Linked DNA regions of Homo sapiens: regions 2 and 3 are each linked to region 1. The links are contacts of gene promoters, found by promoter capture Hi-C in human tissues and cell types (Jung and others, 2019). All regions are on one chromosome and are shown on one strand. The core of a region is centred on a gene start or on the middle of the fragment in contact, and the rest is flanking DNA. Distances in the headings are between cores, read along the strand shown. Region 1 holds the start of FAM110D (family with sequence similarity 110 member D). Region 2 has its middle 7.3 kb from the start of MIR3917. Region 3 overlaps PAFAH2 (platelet activating factor acetylhydrolase 2).

Region 1 (3,587 bases), core at 308-2,807:
GATCGCAGAATGCCAAACTGTAAACATCACCTTGTTTAACCTTTGCATTTCCATTTCATGAAGAGGAAACTGGCTTGGAGAGGAGGGGGGCTTGCTCAGGTCCTATTGAGAGTTAGGAGCCAGGACTGGAACCCAGGTTTCTTTTTTTTTTTTCTTTAGACGGAGTCTTGCTTTGTCACCCAGGTTTCTTGCCTTGCAGTTCAGATTGGATCTCTCACTTGCCTATCAGAACTTCCCACTGAGGCCAGGCGCGATGGCTCATGCCTGTAATCCCAGCACTTTGGGAGGCCGAGGTGGGTGAATTACCTTAGGTGAGGAGTTCCAGACCAGCCTGGCCAACATGGCAAAACCCCATCTCTACTGAAAATACAAAAATTAGCCAGGCGGGGTGGCGCACACCTGTAATCCCAGCTACTTGGGAAGCTGAGGCAGGAGAATCGCTTGAAGCTGGGAGGCGGAGGTTGCAGTGAGCCGAGATCGCGCACCACTGCACTCCAGCCTGGGCAACAGAGCGAGACTCCGTCTCAAAAAAAAAAAAAGAAAAAAAAAAAGAACTCACTGATATTTTGCGTGTATTCCCGCTGCTATAAAACCAAGCAATTTCCGTTAGAAATGGGCCCCTTGCCTCACTAAAAAGTTCCTTCCACTAATTCTTCCTAATAACCTGCGCTCCCACTCCCAGAAATTTGCCCCCAGGGTCCTTGTCCCTTTTTTATCCTAAGACCTCATGACCCTTTTCCACCTCCCTTCTGCTGGGGCAAGGAGCGAGGAGGGGTTGTAAATCAAGAGCTGACAGTTCTCTTGGCAGTAACAGAATGGGCCACCCACATGGCCCTGCACACCCGACCCCACCCCTATCTTCCCCTACTCCCCCTGAGTCCTGGAGGCTGAGGGACCTTGGATCTGGGGACAACAAAGGAACAGAATTAGCCAGGGAAGTGGGGAAGGAGTCTGTGAGAGGCCTTGGGGCAGAGACCCTGCCAGGTCCAGCCCACCCCTGCACCCAGCATCTAGTGTGTAGTCAGTCTGCTCATAGGTAGTTGAGGCCTGGGAACCAAGGAGAGTCTGGCAGTGTCCCCCTCCCTGTCTCCCAGGGAGTCTCCTTGGCAGTGGGTCAGATTCCAAGGTCCCAGGAAGGCACTGCTTGTCTGACCCCATGGGTGCCCTCTGTCCTCTCCTCTTCTCCCCAGCCCTGAGCAGGGAGACTATAAAAAGTTCCTAATCACAAGGACCAAAATAGTCTGTCATCCACAGCCTCTTCCCTGCCTTCTGGGCTAGCCTGGAGGCCGGACCTCAGACATCCCGCCCTAGAAGCCTGGCAGGCAGCCTCGGGCCCTCCATTCCTTTGCCTGCCTTCTCCCAGTCCTGAAACTTGTGGTCTCAACTCTGCCCAAGGCTTCTGCTCTGGGCATGGGCCATCTTTTAGGCTCACTAGTTTGGCACCAGTCTCCCTGCCCTCAGGCCCCTGGGTTCCTTCTTACCCCAGCCCTGGGCTCAGGGTACACTCACCTCTGCATGGGAGGCCTAATTGCAGGGGTCCTTGGGCAGGTCCAGACTGAGGGCAGGAGTGGACAGCAAGGACTAGAAGTAACTTTGGTGGCAGCCAAACCTCACTCTCCACAGGAAAAGCAGAGAAAGCCTCCACCCCCCGCCCCCCAAATTAACCCTCGCCTTCCTGAGGCAGATCCTGGCCTCCATTAACTCTTTCCTGATCACAGTCCTGCGCTGTGGAGACCTGTGAACCAAGTCCAGCTCCTTTTATTTTACAGATGGTCAAACAGTCCCAGCCCGGTTAGGTGATTGGCTGTGGAAGCACTGTGAGCTTGGGCAGAGCCAGGACTCCAAACAAGGCCTCCTGATCCCCAGGCTTCCTCCAAAGGCCTGGGGTGGGGGCTCCGTATGTGGGATCAGCCCCCTCCCTGGGCTGTGGCAGATGCTCTGACAGTCTGAATGGGAAGGCAGAACAGGGTTCTAGTCAACTTGCTTTTTTCCCTCTGTAGCAGGCTGAGACCTGTCTTGGTCTGGGTGCTGGGTGGTGTCAAGCCTGCTTTCCCTGGGGGCGAGACCAGGAATCTGCAGCCTAAGGGTGGGGGCATTGGTGCTATAGATGTGCAGGTGAGCCTGTGGCGGCAAGTCTTGTCATGAAGGTGACCCTGGAGCCCACTGGAGCTGCCTCTGCCAAGGTCCTTTCATGGCAGATGGGATTGCCTGGGAAGACAGTGATGAGGGGCTGATTCCAGGGCCAAGCCCAGGTCCTTTGGCCCGCTTCCTTCTCTGCCCACACTTGGAGCCTCTTAGAGCTTCTTCCATCAGAGTTTCTTCTCTGACACCTTATGTCTCAAGGTGAAACCCTACCTCATAGGAGACACCTCCCCTCTCCCCAGCAGGCAAACTAAACTCTCCAGCCCAGACTAAGACCAGTGCTCAGGCCAAAGGTTCCTTTCCCCCCTTGGCTGGCCACCTTCCCCAAGTCCCTCCTCCTCCTTTCTAGCCCTCTTTCATGTTTGCAAAGCACATTCCCGTCTGTGCTCTCTGATCTCCTTTGACCGCCCCCAAACAAGGACCCTAGACAGGCGTCCAGCAGGAATGACCCCCCACTTAATGAGTAAGGAAACAGGAGCTGAGGGGGGAGAGAGATGCCCAAAGCCCAGCTCCAAATCCACATTTGGAACTGCATCCTCTGCCTGTCAAGTCAGTAGTGGGTCTGAAAACCCAAGGCCCATCTCCCGGTAAAAGGTTTTTATTACCTAAAGGGGGGATTTTGTTGGTGATAGTTCCATATTTTGTTGCTACAGCACTTTTCAAAATGCCATTAGCTGCTTTGTCATAATCCCCATGACAATCTTTGGGGGAGGTTTTATTATTTTTCACACTTACGGCTGAAGAGACTGAGGCTCAGAGAGGAGAAATGACTTATCCAAGCTCACCAAACTCTGTCACCCAGGCTGGAGTGCCGTGACGTGATCTTGGCTCACTGCAACCTCCGCCTCCTGGGTTCAAGCGATTATCCTGCCTCAGCCTCCCGAGTAGCTGGGATAACAGGCAAGTGCCTGGCTAATTTTGTGTTTTTAGTAGAGACAGGGTTTTACCATGTTGCTCAGGCTGATCTTGAACTTCTGACCTTGCGATCTGCCGGCCTCGGCCTCCCAAAGTGCTGGGATTACAGGTGTGAGCCACCTCTCCCGGCCAATAGCTAACTTTTATTGAGAGATTAATATATGTTAGGGGCTATTCTAAGTACCTCACATAAGGATTAACATATTTAATCCTCAAAACAACCCGATGAAATGGCACTTTCGGGCCGGGCGAGGTGGCTCACACCTGTAATCCCAGCACTTTGGGAGGTGAAGGCGGGCCGATCACTTGAGGCCAGGAGCTGGAGACCAGCCTGGCCAACACGGCGAAACCCTGTCTCTACTAAAAATACAAAAATTAGCTGGGCGTGGTGGTGCGCTCCTGTAATCTCAGCTACTAGGGAGGCTGGGGCAGGAGAATCACTTGAACCCAGGAGGCGGAGGTTGCAGTGAGCCAAGATCACACCACTGCACTCCAGCCTGGGTGACAAAGCTGCAAAAAAGAAAAACAAA
Region 2 (3,587 bases), core at 691-3,190, 250 kb after region 1:
TCACCCAGGCTGGAGTGCAGTGGCGTGATCTCGGCTCACTGCAAGCTCTGCCTCCCGGGTTCATGCCATTCTCCTGCCTCAGCCTCCTGAGTAGCTGGGACTATGGGCGCCCGCCCCCACACCTGGCTAATTTTTTGTATTTTTAGTAGAGATGGGGTTTCACCGTGTTAGCCAGGATGGTCTCGATCTCCTGACCTCGTGATCCGCCCGCCTCGGCCTCCCAAAGTGCTGAGATTACAGGCGTGAGCCACTGCCACCGGCCCAAGAAGACAGATTTTCACATGCATCAAGAATTAAAGAATCTCAGGGAAAAGGAGGGGGAGGTCCTTGAGGAAGACTGACCTGGAGGTCCTCATGGAGATAAAGACCTGCAATGACTTCACGGAGGGTTATAGCTGCTGTGCCAGGAATCCTTGGCCTCTAAGCCAAGAAAGGGAGTCTTTTTTTTTTTTTTTTTAGGTTTCAGAAATTTTTGCTTTTCTCATATCATGTGTCCCAAAGTTGAATTTGTCGAATGTTTTCAAGCAGAAAATGGCATGATCAGAGCTGTCCTTGATAGCTAATACCTTAGCTGTCACTTACTGAGGGTTTATTGTGTATAGACACAATGCTAGGGACTTTACATATATTATTTTATTTAGTCCTGGCAGCTCTATGAGGTAGGGGTGTTCTTCCCATTTCACAGATGATGGAACACAGGCCCCAAAAGGGGAAGTCACGTGCCCACACTCATACAAATAGTAACTGAGCAGTACCTGCTGCATCATATAAAGGACAGGATTCAAATTCCCCCTGACATGACACGAACTAGCCATGTGACATTGGGCAAATGTCTAGAGTTCTCTGGTCTTTTCTCCCCTATTTGTAAAATAACAGGGGTAGCCTGATAAAACAGTTTAGAGTGATAGCTGAAAGCATAGAGTCAGGGCCAGACTACAAAAGCTCTGCCGCTTCTGTGTGGCCTAGTTGAACAAGTGATCTAAGCTTGCTGCAAACCTGCTGCTAATGTTTGCCAGACCCAGGGCAGGAGTATAGAAGGGAAGCCCACATACCATATGGCTAAGTATTTAAGAGTTATAAATCAAGCTAACAAACTATTTTTTAAAAATATATGTTCTATCCTCCTACCTTGACAAATATACCTCCATAACAACCTAGAAAGCCAGGTTTTGAGTTGAGAATTCTTGGATTCCCTGGAGTTCCATGTGAGAATGTAGCAGAGCCAGCTCCCTTCTCTTCTCATTCCTGTGTGCATTCCCCAGCCCACATGCTCAGCCTCTGTTCACACCCCTTGCAAACAGCCAGCTCTAAGCACAGGGGTGCACTCACTGGCAGGAAGTTTGCCCTTGGGAGGATGGAACCAGGGAAAGGGTTGGCACAGATGCTGAAAATGGACTTGGGCCATTTTGGCAGGGAATTCTGGAGTCCTGGGTATTGAGAGGGTGGTCTAGAAGGGGTGCACAGGCTCCAGGCGGGCATATCTCTTTGGACCCAGGGAACTGTGAGGAGGGACACAGCTGGAGGAGGATTAGGGTGCAGCCCTCTAAAGAGTAGGGCCTAGGACAAGGACCCCATCTGACATATCTAAAAAAGGGGCCGGGTACGGTGGCTTATGCCTGTAATCCCAGCACTTTGGGAGGCCGAGGCAGGTGGATCACCTAAGGTCAGGAGTTCGAGACCAGCCTGACCAACATAGAGAAACCAACATGGAGAAACGTCTCTATTAAAAATACAAAATTAGCCGGGCATGGTGGTGCATGCCTGTAATCCCAGCTACTCGGGAGGCTGAGGCAGGAGAATCGCTTGAACCCGGAAGGTGGAGGTTGCGGTGAGCCGAGATTGCGCCATTGCACTCCAGCCTGACCAACAAGAGCGAAACTCTGTCTAAAACAAAAACAAAAACAAAAACAAAAACAAACTTTAAAAAGCTACTATCTTTCCATGCCTCAGTTTCCTTTATTTTATTATTATTTTTCCCTCTAAAAAAGGCATTCTGAATCAGTTCCTTTATTTAGAATGACCAACTCATCTGGGCTTGCCTGGAACTTTCCCTGTTTTAGCACTAAAAGTCTCAAGTCCTGGAAAAACCCTTCAGTCCCTGGTAAACCAGGAGAGTTGGTCACCTTCATTGCCTCATCTTTGCAATTAAGCTAATAATACCTCATAAGACTGTCATGAGAATTAAGTGAGTTAGTACATGTGGAGTGTTTAGACCAGTGGCTGCTGTGTGGTAAGCATTCTATGTGAGCTATTAACATTTAAAAGATTCCAGTCTAGGCCAGGTGTGCCTGGACTGGCTCATGCCTGTAACCCCACCACCTTGGGAGGCCAAGGCAGGAGGATCACTTAAGACCAGGAGTTCAAGACCAGCCTGGGCAAAGTGGTGAGACCCCATCTCTAAAAAATAATTTAAAATTAGCCAGGCATGGTGACACATACCTGTTGTCCCAGCTACTCAGAAGGCTGAGGCAGGAGGATCACTTGAGCCTGAGAGGTTGAAGCTGCAGTGAGCCATGTTCACACCACTGCACTCCAACCAGGGTGACAAAGTGAGAACCTGTCTCAAAACAACAAGAACAACAAAAAAGATAAAATGCTGCCAATAATTATAACATGCTATTTATTGACTATGAGGACCAACTGATTTCAAAGATAAAAAATGTGGGGGAAAAAATACATCTTAGAATTAATTAAATAAATAAGATCTGTGCCAGGCACATTGGGAGGGGAGTGAGATACAGCAATGAGAAAGACCCTGCCTTCAGAAAGCTTCCAGTCTCACAGCGCACTTCCAATCTCAGTGCAGTCCAGTCTCTTCCAATGGAAGTGCACTTCCAATCTCATTGCAGCCATGTGAGTCACAGGACTGAGACGGGTGCCACAGTGCAGGCACTAGAGCTGTTCTGAGATCAGCCTGTTGCTAGTCAAATATTTATAGGAGTTATTAATATAGACAGAATTGACAGCCATGTCTTTCTTGGGATTTTGGCTCCTCCCCCTCCTTTTCTCTAATGCCTGAAATTTCTAGGGACAAAGCCTTGCAAATCATTTTTGAATGAGTTGAGATAATGAATTAAAGTGCCACATGGTGAGTGTTGAATTGGTACAACGTGGAAGGCAATTTGGCACCATCCAAATTACAAATGTGCTTGCCTTTTAGCCCTGAAATACCATTTCTAGGAATATGTCTTGCAGATATACTCACACCCATAGGAAATGCCATATGAACTAGGTCATTCATTACAGCATGGTGAGCTATTCTGAATAACTGGGAATAACCTAAAGAGCCACAGATATCCCACTGGTTAACTGCATCTTGGAATATTCATACCATGGACACCAGATCAAAGAAATCCTTGATGTATGAACAGGGAAAAGACCCCTGACGTGGTTTTTGTTTGTTTGTTTAAGAGACAGCGTCTCTGGCCAGGTGTGGTGGCTCACATCTGTAATCCCAGCACTTTGGGAAGTCAAGGCGGGTGGATCACTTGAGGTCAGTAGTTCAAAGCCAGCCTGGCCAACATGGTGAAAACCCATCTCTACTAAAAATACAAAAAATTAGCCAGGCGTGGTGACATGTGCCTGTA
Region 3 (3,587 bases), core at 795-3,294, 190 kb after region 1:
CATGGCAGTAGACACTGCCTGAATGCTTCCCCAGGTCAGATTCAGGAGGGAAAGGAGGTGAGGCCAGTTGGGAAGGGGTACACTCAGGGGACTTAACGCCTGGCAATGTATCGTTTATTCAACTGAGTGCTGGATACTCAAGTATCCCATATATTATTCTATACACCTTTTTGTGTGCCTTAACTAATGCATTTTTTAAAGTCAGTTTTTCTGTGATATCAGACAAATACTTTAGCATTTAGATTCTCTTTCTCTCACTGAATTGACTAGTAAATTCAGTTATGAATAATTTAGCCCAAAATTAACCTAGCAAGGATTTCACCTGCAAATTAAATTTATTTTCTGCCAAAGGACTTAAGTTCCAACCCAGAAACCCCCTTTTACAAAGCACTCACTCTTACTTTTCTGATTGTTTAAATAAAGGCAAGTAATTCCTTTTCCCTCTTCACTCTGTGGTACAGTTCTGAAGAATAACTTCATTTGTTTTGTGAATGTTTGAAATTCACCAGGCAAAAGCCACAGCTAATAGATTGTAGTAACATAGAAATGCCACGTGCCACAGATCCCACCTCCTTGCTCCTGTCCCTGCTCCTGCTAGCTCAACCTTTTCCCTGCACTGCCAGGCATTGTAGTCTACGGGTCAAGCCAGCTTTGAAGCCAAGCACATCTGGCTTCAAATCCTAACTCCATCCCCAACTACTTGTATGACCTGACCCTAAGCAGATAGTTTCTCTCCTTGGATTCTGTCAAGGGGGAAAATACTTCCCTTACAAGGTTGCTGTGAAAATAAAGTGTGATAATACATGAAAAGCACCTTGCACATAGTAGGTGCCTAACACACATCTGTATGCCCTAGCCGCCAGACCCCTGCCAGTTGTTTTTCTTTTCCCCTAGTGGTTCTGTTCATCGGAGTCAAACTGACTTTGCTTTTGTGACTGGCAACTTGATTGGTAAATTCTTCTCCACTGAAACCCGTGGGAGCCTGGACCCCTATGAAGGGCAGGAGGTTATGGTACGGGCCATGTTGGCCTTCCTGCAGAAGCACCTCGGTAAGGAGAAAACTGGGGCTCTTGGGGCAGCTGTGGGGTCCCTTAGATTTCCTTGCAGCAGAGTGAGAACTCTGACATGTCTGGGATCTGGGAAGGAGATTTATGGCAAATGGAAAACCTGAGTGAAGGAGAGACTTACATAGAATTACAGAAAAAACAAGTCCAGGTGCAGTGGCTCACGCCTGTAATCCTAGCACTTTGGTGGGTTGAGGTGGGAGGATGGCTTGGGGCCAGGAGTTCGAGACCAGTCTGAGCAACATAGTGAGACTCTATCTTTACCAAAAAAAAAAAAAAATTAGCTGGGTGTGGTGGCACACACCTATAGTCCCAGCTACTCGAGAGGCTACGGTGGGAGGATCAGTTAAGCCTAGGAGGTCTAGGCTGCAGTGAGCCATGATTGCACCACTGAACTCCAGTCTGAGCAACAGAGCAAGACCTTGTTTCTAAATAAATAATTAAACAAATAAATAAGAAAAAATACTTAACTGAAAGTTTGGAGATCCTGACTATCTTACTTGCAGAATGACCTGGCCTAGTCATTTAACCTCTCTGAACCTTGGTTTCCTCCCTGTAAATGGAGTATTCACCTCTCTCTACTCCACCACCTCTCTCCTTACCCAGACTCATTATTGCCCACCTTATCTGCATTGTAGGGGAGTTTATGAGGATAACGGGCTAAATTTATGGAAGTGTTTTAAAGAAACAAAGCATGGAAGGACTATGAATAATGTCATCAGTCATAGAGCAGCTAAAGGGCGAGGCCTGCAGAGGTCCATGGTCCAGCTTCCACCCAGAGGAGGCATCCTCTTATTAAGCTTTATTGGTTACAAAGACTAGAGGTTCACAAACTTAGCTTGAGAAAAAAAGGGGAGTTTGTTTATGAGAGTGCACCTGGACTGGGTGGGAGTGCAGTTATAGAAATCAGGGTGGCTGGCAGGACTGACTTTTCTTTCCGTCTGTCTCATGGGTTCAGTCTCTCTGTGTCTTCCTCTCACGACATCTCTTTTTCTTTGTTCCGTTATGCATTTTTTTTTCTGCTCTGTGGTTTTTCTCTCACTGATAGCAGCTGTTTATTCCATTTCTGCTTCCTCATAACTTCACTCGGCTTGAACCACTCAGAGTGTGTTCCCTTTAGCTTGCGGCATCCTTTCATCTTCAGCTCCCACTGCTCACTGCCATATTTTTTTGGATTTCTTTGAACAGATTTCCAAGAGAGGCAATTTGATTGTATCAGCTCCTCTTTGCCCACCAGAACACACTGTAGCCCCGTCCCAGCTAGGCTCTGAGCTCTCTGCATCAGAGGTCCCTTTCTGATCCCTCAGCAGGTGCTGTGTGCAGGGCAGTTTCCATGAGAAAGGAGCCAGGCTTGTCTGAATTTCAAAGGTTTGACTTAACTCTAACCTAAGAGCAAGATCTCCTAGTTTGTAACCCTCCTCTACTTGCCCAGGTTAACCCCTCAAGAGCTACCCATAGAAGCCTCAGACGGCACCTGGCAGTTCCCTAGATATTTGAAGTCACCTATGCTAGTCTTCTCTGAGTGTTCTGTTTATTAAACTAAATGTTCGTGGTACCTCCACCTGTCCCGGTTCAATTCCCCATGTTGCTATTTGTTATCCCCTTCCTTTGGAGTCGCTGTTTTTTGGTGCCCCTTCTAAAGTGTAGTGCCCTGGCCGGGTGTGGTAGCTCAACATCTGTAATCCCAGCTACTTTGGGAGGCTGAGATGGGAGGATTGCTTGAGGCCACGGGTTTGAGACCAGCCTGTGCAACATAGTGAGACCCCATCTCAGCAAAAAAATAAATAAAATTAGCCAGGTATGGTGGCATGTGCCTATAGTCCCAGCTACTCGGGAGGCTGGGGTGGAAGGATCACTTGAGCCTGGGAGGTCAAGACTGCAGTGAGCCAAGATCATGCCATTGCACTCCAGCCTGGGCAACAGAGTGATACCGTCTCCAAAAAATAAAATAAATAGATAAACTGTGGTGCCCTGACTTGACTATAATGTATTAGATGTGGTCTGACCGGTGCCATCCTGGACAGTCTCTTCTGTGCTCTGTTTTTTGTTTTGTTTTGTTTTGTTTGAGACGGAGTCTCACTCTGTCTCTCAGGCTGGAGTGCAGTGGTGTGATCTCAGCTCACTGCAACCTCAACCTCCTGGGTTCAAGCGATTCTCCGGCAGTTCTCCTGCCACAGCCTCCCAAGTAGCTGGGACTACAGGCATGTGCCACCACACCCAGCTACTTTTTGTATTTTTAGTAGAGACAGGGTTTCACCATGTTGGCCTGGCTGGTCTCGAACTCCTAACCTCCAGTGATCCACCTGCCTCGGCCTCCCAAAGTGCTGGGATTACAGGTGTGAGCCATCGCGCCTGGCCGTCTCTGTGCTCTGGACACTAGCCTTTTAGTTGGATGACCTGAGTGCATTCACATTCCTCACAAGTGCACAACAAACAGCCTGGATTGAGTTTGCATTTAAAACACATCTGTCTTACGCATTTATTGACTTTTTGGAAGTAAATTTTCATTTTTATATTTCTGCC

The links. Contacts are between HindIII fragments. The study calls those that stand out against the background at their distance.
Region 2: a contact is called between a fragment that was not itself captured here and the fragment with the promoter of FAM110D in region 1, in 1 of the 25 tissues and cell types used here (neural progenitor cells).
Region 3: a fragment that was not itself captured here is called in contact with the fragment with the promoter of FAM110D in region 1 in 1 of the 25 tissues and cell types used here (bladder).

Annotation. Positions count from the first base shown.
Region 1 is chr1:26,157,049-26,160,635 of GRCh38, reverse strand. It overlaps FAM110D (family with sequence similarity 110 member D), which reads right to left and starts at 1,557. Exons shown (of 2, transcript NM_024869.3): 1 at 1,510-1,557. RefSeq lists an enhancer at 3,283-3,587. The HindIII fragment of the contact is 16,538 bases long and covers 1-3,587 here.
Region 2 is chr1:25,911,944-25,915,530 of GRCh38, reverse strand. No RefSeq gene overlaps it. Among named protein-coding and RNA genes, the nearest start is that of MIR3917, 7.3 kb to the right of the region's middle. The HindIII fragment of the contact is 5,467 bases long and covers 1-3,587 here.
Region 3 is chr1:25,970,020-25,973,606 of GRCh38, reverse strand. PAFAH2 (platelet activating factor acetylhydrolase 2) reads left to right here. Exons shown (of 11, transcript NM_000437.4): 10 at 895-1,049. Among named protein-coding and RNA genes, the nearest start is that of PAFAH2, 26 kb to the left of the region's middle. The HindIII fragment of the contact is 4,625 bases long and covers 1-3,587 here.